2 separate regions of the Homo sapiens genome follow, and region 2 is linked to region 1. Evidence: promoter capture Hi-C in 16 types of primary human blood cells and fetal thymus (Javierre and others, 2016). All regions are on one chromosome and are shown on one strand. The core of a region is centred on a gene start or on the middle of the fragment in contact, and the rest is flanking DNA. Distances in the headings are between cores, read along the strand shown.

Region 1 (5,822 bases), core at 99-2,598:
ATTTTCATAGCAATTGTGCTACACCTGTATAAGCATTAAACCTGGGGAGAACTGATATCTTTACTATGTTGAGTCTTCTGATTTATGAATGCAGTATGTTTCTGCATTTGTTTATTCTTTGATTTTTTTTTTTTTTTTTTAAGACGGAGTCTCACTCTGTCACCCAGGCTGGAGTGCAGTGGCACAATCTCGGCTCACTGCAAGCTCCGCCTTCCGGGTTCACGCCATTCTCCTGCCTCAGCCTCCCGAGTAGCTGGGACTACAGGTGCCCGCCACCACGCCTGGCTAATTTTTTTGTTTTTGTATTTTTAGTATTTTTAGTAGAGACGGGGTTTCACGGTGTTAGCCAGGATGGTCTCGATCTCCTGACCTTGTGATCCACCTGCCTTGGCCTCCCAAAATTCTGGGATTATAGGCGTGAGCCACCGTGCCCGGCTATTCTTTGATTTTTAAAAAACTTTAAAAATTGCTTATTTATTTTAGAGATGTCGTCTCGCTTTGTTGCCCGGGCTGGTTTCGAACTCCTGGATTCAAGCAATCCTCCCTCCTTGGCCCCCCAAAGTGCTGGGATTACAGGTGTGAGCCACTGCACTCAGCCTTGATTTTTTTTAATCAAGCATTTTGGAGTTTTTAGCATACATAAAGCTCTGTACATATTTCGTTAGATTTACACCTATTTCATTTATTTGAGTGATTGTAAGTGGTATTCTATTTTTTAGTGTTCTTGTGATCATTGCTAGTATTTAGAAATCCAGTTGATGTTTGTGTGTTTATCTCATATCCTGCAACCTTGCTGAACTCAGTTTAAACCGGAGGTGTTTTCCTGATAGATTCTTTCGGATTTTTAAAATGTGGACAATCATGTCATCTGCAAATCAGGACGGTTTTCTTTCTTTCTTATGTATAAATGTCAATGAGTATGCAACTATGATGTGCAACTTTCAGCATTGTCCAAAAGTTACAGAGGATGATGCAGTGACTGTGACTTTGAAAAACAAAGAATGATCCTTAAATCACAGCTGCTGCAGCCATTTCAGCTATTTGGCAGAGGTGGTAATGCTGCCTTTTGGACCTACAATACAACCAAGTCTTTGTTCGAATCATCTCACTTCCTGGCTATATTCTTAAGAAAGGAGGGTGCTTCATGCGCTGAGCTCATGGCACAGGTCCCGCAAGTGACCTGCGAGCCCCACCGCTAGGGGCCGCTTAGGTGCAGCCCCCAGGTGGGCGGGGACTGCGTTTCGGGGCGTGGCCTCCGCCGCGGCAGCCCCCGCCCAAGCTCCTCCTAAGCGCCTGGGGGCGCTGTGGGTCGCTTTGGGTCGCGGGGGCGCTCTTTCTCAGCATTCTTGTTTCGTACTGAGGCTTTCGGGACGGCGGCGGGAAGATGGCGGCCTCCAGGAATGGGTTTGAAGCCGTGGAGGCAGAGGGCAGCGCAGGGTGCCGGGGAAGCTCGGGAATGGAGGTGGTGCTTCCTTTGGATCCTGCCGTCCCCGCCCCGCTGTGCCCTCACGGTGGGTCAGAGTCTGGGCTCAGCCTAACTGCCGGGCGCTGAGGGTGTGAGTTGGCTTGGAAGTGGCTTTTGGGGCTCCTGTATTTTTACCCGCCTCTTTCCCTCACCAGTGTGCTGCCTAGAAAATACTCCTTCCTCGGAACGCGGTGTTTTTCAACTTACTTGAGAAACATTCAGAGCAAGTCTCCACTCTTGTGGTTTTGGCTCCAGGACTATTTCATCTCTTTTGGGGGGAAGGGGCAGAAAAGTAGGCAAAGAGAAGAATGCATGGTATTGAATAGTTCTCGTTGACAAGTACTTGGGGATTTCATTTGTTGATTTGCTCTCCCTTCAAAAATAAAAAATTAGGGAGAAAAACAGTGTAATTCTTGCCTGCGAACTAGACTCAGTTTTTCTCTAACTTACAGAAAGTGGGCGTTTCCAGCTCAAAGCTCAGGTTTTCACTGCAAGGGTAACCGCGCAAGAGATGTCAAAGTCCTCAATTCTCTGAGTCCCTTCCTTGTTTTAGTCTCAGGTTTGTAATATTCACAACGTAGACAGCAACTGTACCGACAATAGCATTTTCTTTCTGAAGAGACCGGTTTTCAAAAATTATTTATAAGTAGTCACTGCCGGAATGTTGTAACAGAGAGAAAAGAAACATTCATTAAACACAGAGAAGCCGGCGTGGTGGCGTGCACCTGTAGTTCCAGCACTTGGGGGGCCGAGGCGGGCTGATCGCTTGAGCCCAGGAGTTTGAGACTAGCCCGGGCAAAAATGATGACACTCCGTCTACAAAAAAAGAAAAACAGCTGGGGACACGCAACTGTAGTCCCAGCTACTCGGGATGCTGAGGCGGGAGAATCGCTTGAGGCTAGGAAGCAGGATCTCAGTGAGCCATGATTGTGCCAGTGCGCTTCAGCCTGGGCGACAGAGGGAGACCCTGTCTCAAGAAAACAAAACAAAAAACCCTAACAAAACAAAAAACAACCAACCAAAGAGATGGATTTAATTATGATAAATTGTGCCTAAAGCTCAAACAAATTTTATTTAAGGGCAGCGAAAACTAAGAACTTGACGTAGATGACCATTACTTGACACTTTTTTTTTTTTTTTCTATTCTGGAACTAGGACCCACTCTTCTGTTTGTAAAGGTGACCCAAGGGAAAGAAGAAACTCGGAGGTTTTATGCCTGTTCAGCCTGTAGAGATAGAAAAGACTGTAATTTTTTTCAGTGGGAAGATGAAAAGGTATATCAACTTTTTGGATATTTATTTTTTATTTTTGGTATGTGTGACAATTTTGTTGAGAACGTGTAAACCAATAAAAATATGCGGTCTGAACATACAAGATAAATCTCTTAAGAGAGATGGAGATACTATGTTTGTTGGTTCAGAAAATGAGTTCATGTTTACTCTGATTACTGATATCTTAAACTACTGTCTCAAAGTCTTATTTCCCCATAAGACTCTCTGAGGTGGTAATATTGGGTGGGGCTGATCTTCTGTGTGTTAGCTTGGGCTTCTGTAACAGAAGTACCATAGGCTGTGTGGCTTAAACGACAGACATCTGTTTCTTACAGTTCTGGAGACTGGGAAGTCCAGGATCAAGATGCTGGCAGATCTAGTGTCTGGTGTAGGTCCTGTCCTCTTCCTGATTTGCAGAGGGTCATCCTTTCTTTATATCCTCATTTCCCAGAGAGAGGAAGCAAGCACTGTCTGTCTTAGAAGGACACTAATCTCATTCCTGAGGGCTCTACCCTCTTGACGTAATTACCTCTCAAAGGCGCCTCATTTAAATACCATCACATTGGGGTTAAGGCTTCAACATACGAATTTTAGGGGGCACAAACATTCAGTCGATAGCACCGTTGGCAGATACAGATTGCTCACTAAAGAGAAATCATGATCATTCCAGAAAGTGTTAAAAAACACTTTTTTTGAACATTTGCATTGAACATCCCTTATACAGCTATTAGATGACCAATGAAGGCACTTAGAGATATAGTCATGAGCTTGGTATCCTCTTGAACTCGGCTCCAGTTGAAGTTTCTGAAAACTTTGACCAGAGAATTTTCAGTTTTGTTAGGTTTATGGTAAAACAGTATTATATACCACTCTTCTGCAGACCCATTAAGGTGAATACTTGGTTTGTGTCCACCTTTTTGCTATTGTGGATGATGCTACAGTGAACATATGTTAATCTCTCAGTGCTTTAATATGCTGGATATTGCTTCAAGCTGCTCTAGAATTTTCCCAGTTTTCGCTGTTTTGTTTTCTCCTGAAATGAATGCCTGTTGAGTTGGTTGAATTTCTGACTTCTTGATGTCAGAATGTGATGCCAGTTCTTCTAGGATGATAGATATTTCACAGTTTATTCAATGGGTTTTGTACTCTCTTTCAGTTGTCAGGAGCTAGACTTGCTGCCCGAGAAGCTCATAACCGAAGATGTCAGCCTCCCCTGTCCCGAACGCAGTGTGTGGAAAGGTACTGATGCAGTGTCATTTTTCTTTATTAGTTTAGCTGTCATTTTTTTTGTTATTGCCTTTTTCTGTGCCTTTAAGTTTACTTTCATTTATTTATTTTTATTGTAGTTACATATATAATATAAAATTTGCCATTTTAATCATTTTCAAGTGTGCAATTCAGTGACATTAAGTACATTCATGTTGTTGTGTAACCATTGCCCCTATTCGCAAAACTTTTTCATCACTCCAAACAGAAACTGCCACCATTATGCTGTAACTCCTCATTCTACCTCCTCCCAAACCCTAGTAACCTCTGATTTATTTTTGTGTGTTTTTTTTTTTTTTTTTGAGACAGGGTCTCACTCTGTGTTGCCCAGGCTGAAGTGCAGTGGTGCTGTCACGACTCACTATAGCCTCAACCTCCTGGGCTCAACCAGTCCTCCACCTCAGCCTCATGAGTAGCTGGGACTTCAGGCACACGCCACCACACCCAGCTAATTTATTATTATTTTTTATAGAGATAAGGTCTTGCTATGTTGCCCAGAACTCCTGGTCTAGAACTACTGGGCTCAAGGGATCCGCCCACCTCAGCCTCCCAAACTGTGAAGGTTACAGGCATGAGCCATTGTGCCCGACTATTTTTGTTGCTATGAATTTGACAATTCTGTGTACCTCATACAAGTGAGACTATACAATATTTGTCCTTTTGGGTCTGGCTTATTTTACTTAGCATAATGTCTTCAAGGTTCATGCATGTGGTAGCATGTATCAGAACTGTATTCCTTTTTACAACTGAATAATATCCGTTGTCTGTCTATACCACAGTTTAAAAATCTGTTCATCTGTTGATGGACACTTGGGCTGTGTCTACTTTTTTGCTGTTGTGAATGATGCTACAGTGAACATTGATATACAAATATTAGTTTGAGACCCTGTCTTCAATTCTTTTGGGTATATACCTAGATGTGGAATTGTCAGTAATTCTGTGTTTAATTTTTTGAGGAACCGCCAAACTGTTTTCCATAGTGGCTGCACCATTTTACATTCCCACTAGGAGTGTATATGCATTCCAATTTCTCCGCATCCTTGCCAACACCTATTATTTCTTGTTTTTCTGATTACAACCATCCTAGTAATTGTGAAGTGGTATGTCATTGCAGCTTTGATTTTTGTTTTTTATCAAATTACTAATGATGTGAATCATCATTTCATGTGCTTACTGGCTATTTATGTATGATCTTTGGAAAAATGTCTGAGTCCTTTATCTATTTTTAATTGGGTTATCTTTTTGTTGTTGAGTCACAGGAGTTCTTTATATGTTCTGGATATTACAACTTTGCCAAATATATGATTTGCAAATATTTTCTCCTATTCTGTAGGTTGTCTTTTGACTTTCTTGATGTCCTTTGAAACACAAGAGTTTTAATTTTGATGAAGTTCAATTTATCAATTTTTTTTGTTGTTGCTTGTGCTTTCGGTGTATAGATCAGAACCCATTATCAAATCCATTGTTATGAAGATTTGCTGTGATGTTTCTTTTTTGAAATACTAAACCAAACTTTAAAAATCTCTAAACATCTATTTTTAAAAATCTGCATTGTTGAAATGTTTTATTGGGTGGATTAGAGTTGAGTCATAGATGTAATTTTTTGACAAACTTGTGAAAAGAATTTATCTCTTACCTGTGTCACTGACATTGTACAGTATGTGCTGGGAGAAGCTCCTTAAAAAGCCTCTTGTCTAGGTTACTGATGACAAATAGGTTTTTACTTTTATGGCAGCTCCTTCATTTTACCTGGGCTGCTGTGTTCAGAAAGATTGTGAGGCCTCATTTAGACTAAGCACAGAGGAGTACTGGGGTGTATT
Region 2 (5,354 bases), core at 1,141-3,640, 1.0 Mb after region 1:
AGGGCTCGCCCGCGGAGGAGCCGCCTGCGCATGCTCCATCGCCTGGGTAGGTTTCCAGGGAAGGCAGCGAGCAGGATCCCCTACTCTGCGGGCGGCGCGAGGCGTCTGGCTCTTCGCGGCGGCGGCGAGGGGAAAGGGAGCGCGGGGGCTGGGTGGAATCGAGGAGTGAGGAAAAAGGGAAGGGGCGGGGGAGAGGGACCAGGGAAGGCGTCGGGGGGAATCTCGCGAGGGTTGGAGTTTTGGCGAGAGTTTGTGGAAGATGGCGCCTGTTGTGACAGGGTAAGTCTGAGGGAATCGGAGCGCCGGGAACCGGGAAAGTTGCGGGCGTCTGGCAGCTCACGGCGGGCAGCGGGTTCGGGGGCCGCGGCGCGCTTGGCGTTCGGGGGCCCGCGGGGGCGGCGTCGCGTGCGCCGAGCGCGGCGGCGGCGGCGTGTGGCCGTGCGCTGCCGCTCTGCGCTGCCGTGGCTCAGGCTCCAGCGCGTGAGGGCGGGCGGCGGCGGCGGCGGCGAGGCCGGCGGGTGCGGGCGTGAGTGCGGCAGGGCGCGCGGGGCCCTCGGGCGCCGTGCCTCCCGCGCGCCTCCAGCGGGCTCTGCCTGGGGGCCCCGTGCATCTTTGTTCCTCGCGGCCGTTGTCGCCGCTTCGCCCCGCTAGTGCCCCCGGCCCCGGGCGCTTTGTCTTTCACCGCTACCCGCTGCGACTCTCTACCCCCGGCCCTTTGTTTCGCCGCCTTGGGCGCTTTGTCCGACCCGTGGCGTCCCGCATCCCCTCTCCATCTCCTCCCCTCCGCTGTCCTTCCTCCCGTGCCCCTTTGTTGTGCCACACTCTTGTCGTTAGCCCAGTGACCTGCCACAGCCCGGGCACCAGATTTCTGCCTTAATTGTTCTTCCATTGTCTTTCTCCTGTGGGTCCCCTCTCACCTTTCTGTATGGTCCTGGATCACCCCCCGAGGCTTTGTCTCCCCCATCCACGGGCTTATTCTCTCGGCACCCCCTTCCTCTCCCGTCATCGGTTGATTTATCCACAACCCACGGTGTACGTCTGCTGAACTGTCTCAGCCCCGGGGACTCCATCTGCTGCTTCTAAGTGCACACAAGACTCTACGGTTTGTTGTTTTGTGGGTCTGAAAGATGCATGGGATACTTAGTTTTCTCCTCCGCACCTCTTTTTCTCGGGATTTCTTGTACCCTCCCGCCCCCCTATCGCCACCCCTTTCTCTCGGGATTAAAGCGTCTCCAATTTTCATCGCCGTCTTTTTAGTGCCGTGGGTTGTTTTGCTTGGAAACAGTAGCCTTGGAAAAAGATCTGGTCTCTTGGTGGTTCTTGCGCCCCCCGGCCCCCGCCCCCCTCCTGGTTCCTGACGGCGTAGGCCAAGGGCAGCTGTCTGTCGAAGCTTTGCAATCTAGGCTGCCTGAGGATGATTGGAGGGTATCGTAGGACGGTTAGAAGGAGGCTCAAGATGTATATATGTGTTTTTCTGTTAGTGTTTGAGAATAGTTTCAGATAGCCACAATGGATATTCATTTGGCGTGTGAGTAGGAGTTGAGTGAATTTCCATGTTAAAAACTTGTGAGTGTTGGGGCGGAGAATTTCAGCATTTTCTAGAAATCTGGATTTAGAATTTATCAGTAACTTCTGCCTCATAAGGAAAAGGAGAGGCATTCCGCTTGGGAATTTTATATAAATGTTTTATTTTTTCTTAATCATTAGATAGTTTACAGTTATGTGCTTTTTGCTGCCCTGTAGATGCGTGACAACCCTTCTGTCCCATCATTGGGGTTGAAATGAGGACAGCACCGAAGAGTGCAGTTTCTGGTCGATGAATACTGCTTCTAAGATCTTTGTGGAAGATATTAATCAAATGCAGTTAAAAAGTATACGTATAATATGTATATTATATATATATATACACACACACACGTAATAGCCTGTAGTGAGATTATTTTAAAGACACTTCCTAGTGTTAAAGAACCCTTGAAGTGTTTCGAGTTCTTATTGTTTTGGTAATGCTAAAAGCTTGGGGTTGTGTGAATGGGGGTGGGGGGTGTGGTGTGATGTATTCTAATGACTTGAGTTATTCTGGGTGCTAGGAATAAGAGTTATTATATTTACCAGGATTACTATGCTGAAGGTATTCTTCAAGAGTTTGTTTTTTTTCTACTGGTTGATCTCTACTTTTAGAAGGTATGTTACCCATAAAATCATTTGGAGTGTCATTTCATTTACAAACTGAAGTTCTACAATAGTGAAGTGTTGTTGATAGGGGACATACGAGATCTACTCTAACGAGTATTGGAGCATTGGAAAATACTTTTTTTTCTGGCTGTGATTAGAATTAGTAGTTTGAGTTTTAATTAATGGAAAACCATGTTTTCATGATTGATACATAAGTTTTTTTGTGAAAATCTGCAGTCTGGGTCGCTTGAGTGGGTTTTACCAATAATCTTATGTCTCCCTTACTTGTTCTTGTACATAATCATTGTTTTGAAGGTAAAATCTTGAGCTCACTGGTTCTCTGACTGGGAGCAAAGTGTAAATACTGTGTAGTAATGGAAGGTATTTTGCTCTGACTTGTACCTGTAAGAATGATTACACAGACATGATAAAAGCGCTTTTACCATTTGAGTTGCGTTTTTCTTTCTAAATCGTGTAATACTTTTACTTACATGATTGGTGAAATAAAACTGCTTTTAATTAAATTATAACAGCAGCATATTTCGAAATCTGGATGCGTTGTGGCTGGAGAACTTTCATTCTGAGTATTAACTGTTAAAGCTTTAAATTTTATTATCCATGCATATTGCTGATGGATCTGTGAGTATATTTTCAGAAAACAGGAGACTTGCAATATTTTCAAATCTGTACTAATACACACTTGTAGGCATTAGATTTTAAGCAGTTAGGTTTGTTAAAAAGTTATCTGTTGTCCTATACCAACAGATTTCTATCAATGTTTTTTTTAAGTGGGTAAGATCAAAATTGGTTTGGTTGACAGGCCATTCTTGCCAGATGTAATTCATTAAATAACCTTTGGCACCCTTGATGGGTAAGGCATTAGGAAAAAATTGTTTCGTTTGAAAGTTATTATACATCTCATTCTTCTGTTCATTTTTAGAAATAAGACCCAGGACTTGGCTTTAAAGCATTATTTTGCATTTTGCTTCCTCCTAATACTAAATTTCATGTTATCTCAACTAGGGGCAGTATTTTCTCATGGATTGACTAAAAGTTGTTATTTTTGGCATCTGGCTTTGTGATTATTTCCAAGTTACTCTACTTCCCCTGGGCCAGTTTCCTAACTATGTAGTAAAATGGGAATTATAATAACTTGCCACATCTGCACAGGATTGCTGTGCCTTAAGATTCGCAGAGAGCATCCTTGGATGAAAACTGTGGGGAAGGTCTAGGAATTGTTACTGAAATAAGCTAATGTGAAGTAGGTCATATTTTATAGGAAGTCAAATAGGAGGTTTTTAAGTTCTTGGCAAGACACAGTAGCGATAGTGGGATTTTTTAAAATCCCAAATATGTATTATAATATGGGTAATAAAACAGATACCTTTATTCCTGCCCCCCATAAACTTATAGGGAAAGGGACAAATAAAACAAATTACAGGGTGATGTGTCGTGTGTGAGTGTGTGTGTGTGTGTGTGTGTGTGGTGTAAGAGATTGAAGTTCTGTCAAACTCAAATGTAATAACATTATAAAATTATGGGATGCCTTTCCTCTTTTGTTTTCTGCATGTAGCAATATTCTATTTATTTATTTTATTTTATTTTTTGAGACAGGGTCTCACTCTGTGGCCAGGCTGGAGTTCAGTGGCACAATCTTAGCTCACTGCAACCTCCACCTCCTGGGTTCAAGCGATCCTCGTGCCTTAGCCTCCTGAGTAGCTGGGATTACCAGCGTACACCATCATACCTGGCTAATTTTGTATTTTTAGTAGACATGGGGTTTCGCCATGTTGGCCAGGCTGATCTCAAACTCCTGACCTCAAGGGATCTGCCCACCTTGGCCTCCCAAAGTACTGGGATTACAGGGGTGAGCCACCATGCCTGGCCTGCATGTAGTAATATTTAACAAATGGTAGTACAACATGCTTTCACTGGACTCTAAGCCAAGTCTGTTAATAGCAGTGATTAATTTTAAATATGCCTTATATTTTTTAGTGCTTTGTTATTTGCTCTTAAGAATAAATTCTAATAACCATGACTATAATTTCAGATTTGACTCTTGGCCTTAGAAAAGTGTTTTGCATTTGAGGAGCACTCTGTAGATACGTATTGACTGAATGAAACCTGTTGCTTCTCTGTTCTTGGTAGATGATACCATATTCCGTTTGGTTCCCAAAGCCACGATTCCTAATTCCTCTCTCACCAGCCTTTACATTTAATTACTGAGAACTGATCATTTTTCCTTCTAAAAAATCTCTTGAATTTGTTTCCCTTATCCTCACTGCCGAAGTTCATGCTGTCATTTCTCACCTGGTTTACTATGACGTACTGACAGCCTCTTTCTGCTTCTAGAGTCACCACCTTTATCCAGCTTCTACATGTAGCAGAGCAGTCTTTCTAAAGAGCAAATCTGATCACTGCTTAATCTAAAAACCTTTCAATGGCTCCCCCTAGCAGCGTTCATTAAGAGAGGCAACAGAGTGGAGGGTTATGAGCTCACATTTAGTGTTTAATCTGAACTGGGTTCCAATTCTGTCTCTGGCACTTAAAACCCCTGCCAGTTAAAACCCCTGTAACATTGACAAGTTAATCTCTTTATCAATTGCAAGATAATTATTCCTAACTCAGAAAGTTGTTGTGAAGATTAAATGAGATAATGTATGAAAGCATTTAGCAGAATTCCTGGCATGTAGCAAGTGCTCAAAAGATGTTAGCTACTGTGGCGCATAGGATCCTCCATAACTATTTCATCTGTCTCTTCTCCAGCTGAGTTGTTTGCCATTTTCTCTCCATAATCAGTGCTTCAGTCATATTAAAGTATTTTGACATCTCTGCATGAGCCCAGCAGTTTAATGCGTTCTTGTGTATGAAAAGTAATGATCCTTAGTAGGTTATTTCTCAAGACTAAGGGAATATTCTAACCAGATCTACCAGACTACAGTTGGTGCCTGGCTGTATAAATACTGTATATTTAATACAGTATTAAATGCTGTATATAATTCTCTTGGAAGCATGATACTAAGTTGTAATTATCACACCCAAATATTGTCACTTGGTGGCAGGTATCATTTATATTCTTATACTTAGAAGATTGTCTATCACATGATAGAGACTCAGCAAAAAGAATTTTTGAACATAGGACTCAGTGCTTTGAAATCTTGGTGCAACATGGTTCATGTGGC

What was found. Contacts are between HindIII fragments. The CHiCAGO score rates a contact against its expected background, and 5 or more counts as called.
Region 2: a fragment that was not itself captured here is called in contact with the fragment with the promoter of ZCCHC4 in region 1 in 1 of 17 cell types (naive CD4 T cells); the score reaches 6.1 in naive CD4 T cells.

Annotation. Positions count from the first base shown.
Region 1 is chr4:25,311,426-25,317,247 of GRCh38, forward strand. ZCCHC4 (zinc finger CCHC-type containing 4) reads left to right here and starts at 1,349. Exons shown (of 13, transcript NM_024936.3): 1 at 1,349-1,511; 2 at 2,621-2,739; 3 at 3,893-3,975. The coding sequence starts at 1,385. RefSeq lists enhancers at 1,003-1,879, 1,408-1,467 and silencers at 1,128-1,197, 1,205-1,409. The HindIII fragment of the contact is 7,197 bases long and covers 1-5,822 here.
Region 2 is chr4:26,320,770-26,326,123 of GRCh38, forward strand. RBPJ (recombination signal binding protein for immunoglobulin kappa J region) reads left to right here and starts at 245. Exons shown (of 11, transcript NM_015874.6): 1 at 245-279. The coding sequence starts at 260. RefSeq lists silencers at 289-418, 489-588 and an enhancer at 701-1,622. The HindIII fragment of the contact is 759 bases long and covers 2,012-2,770 here.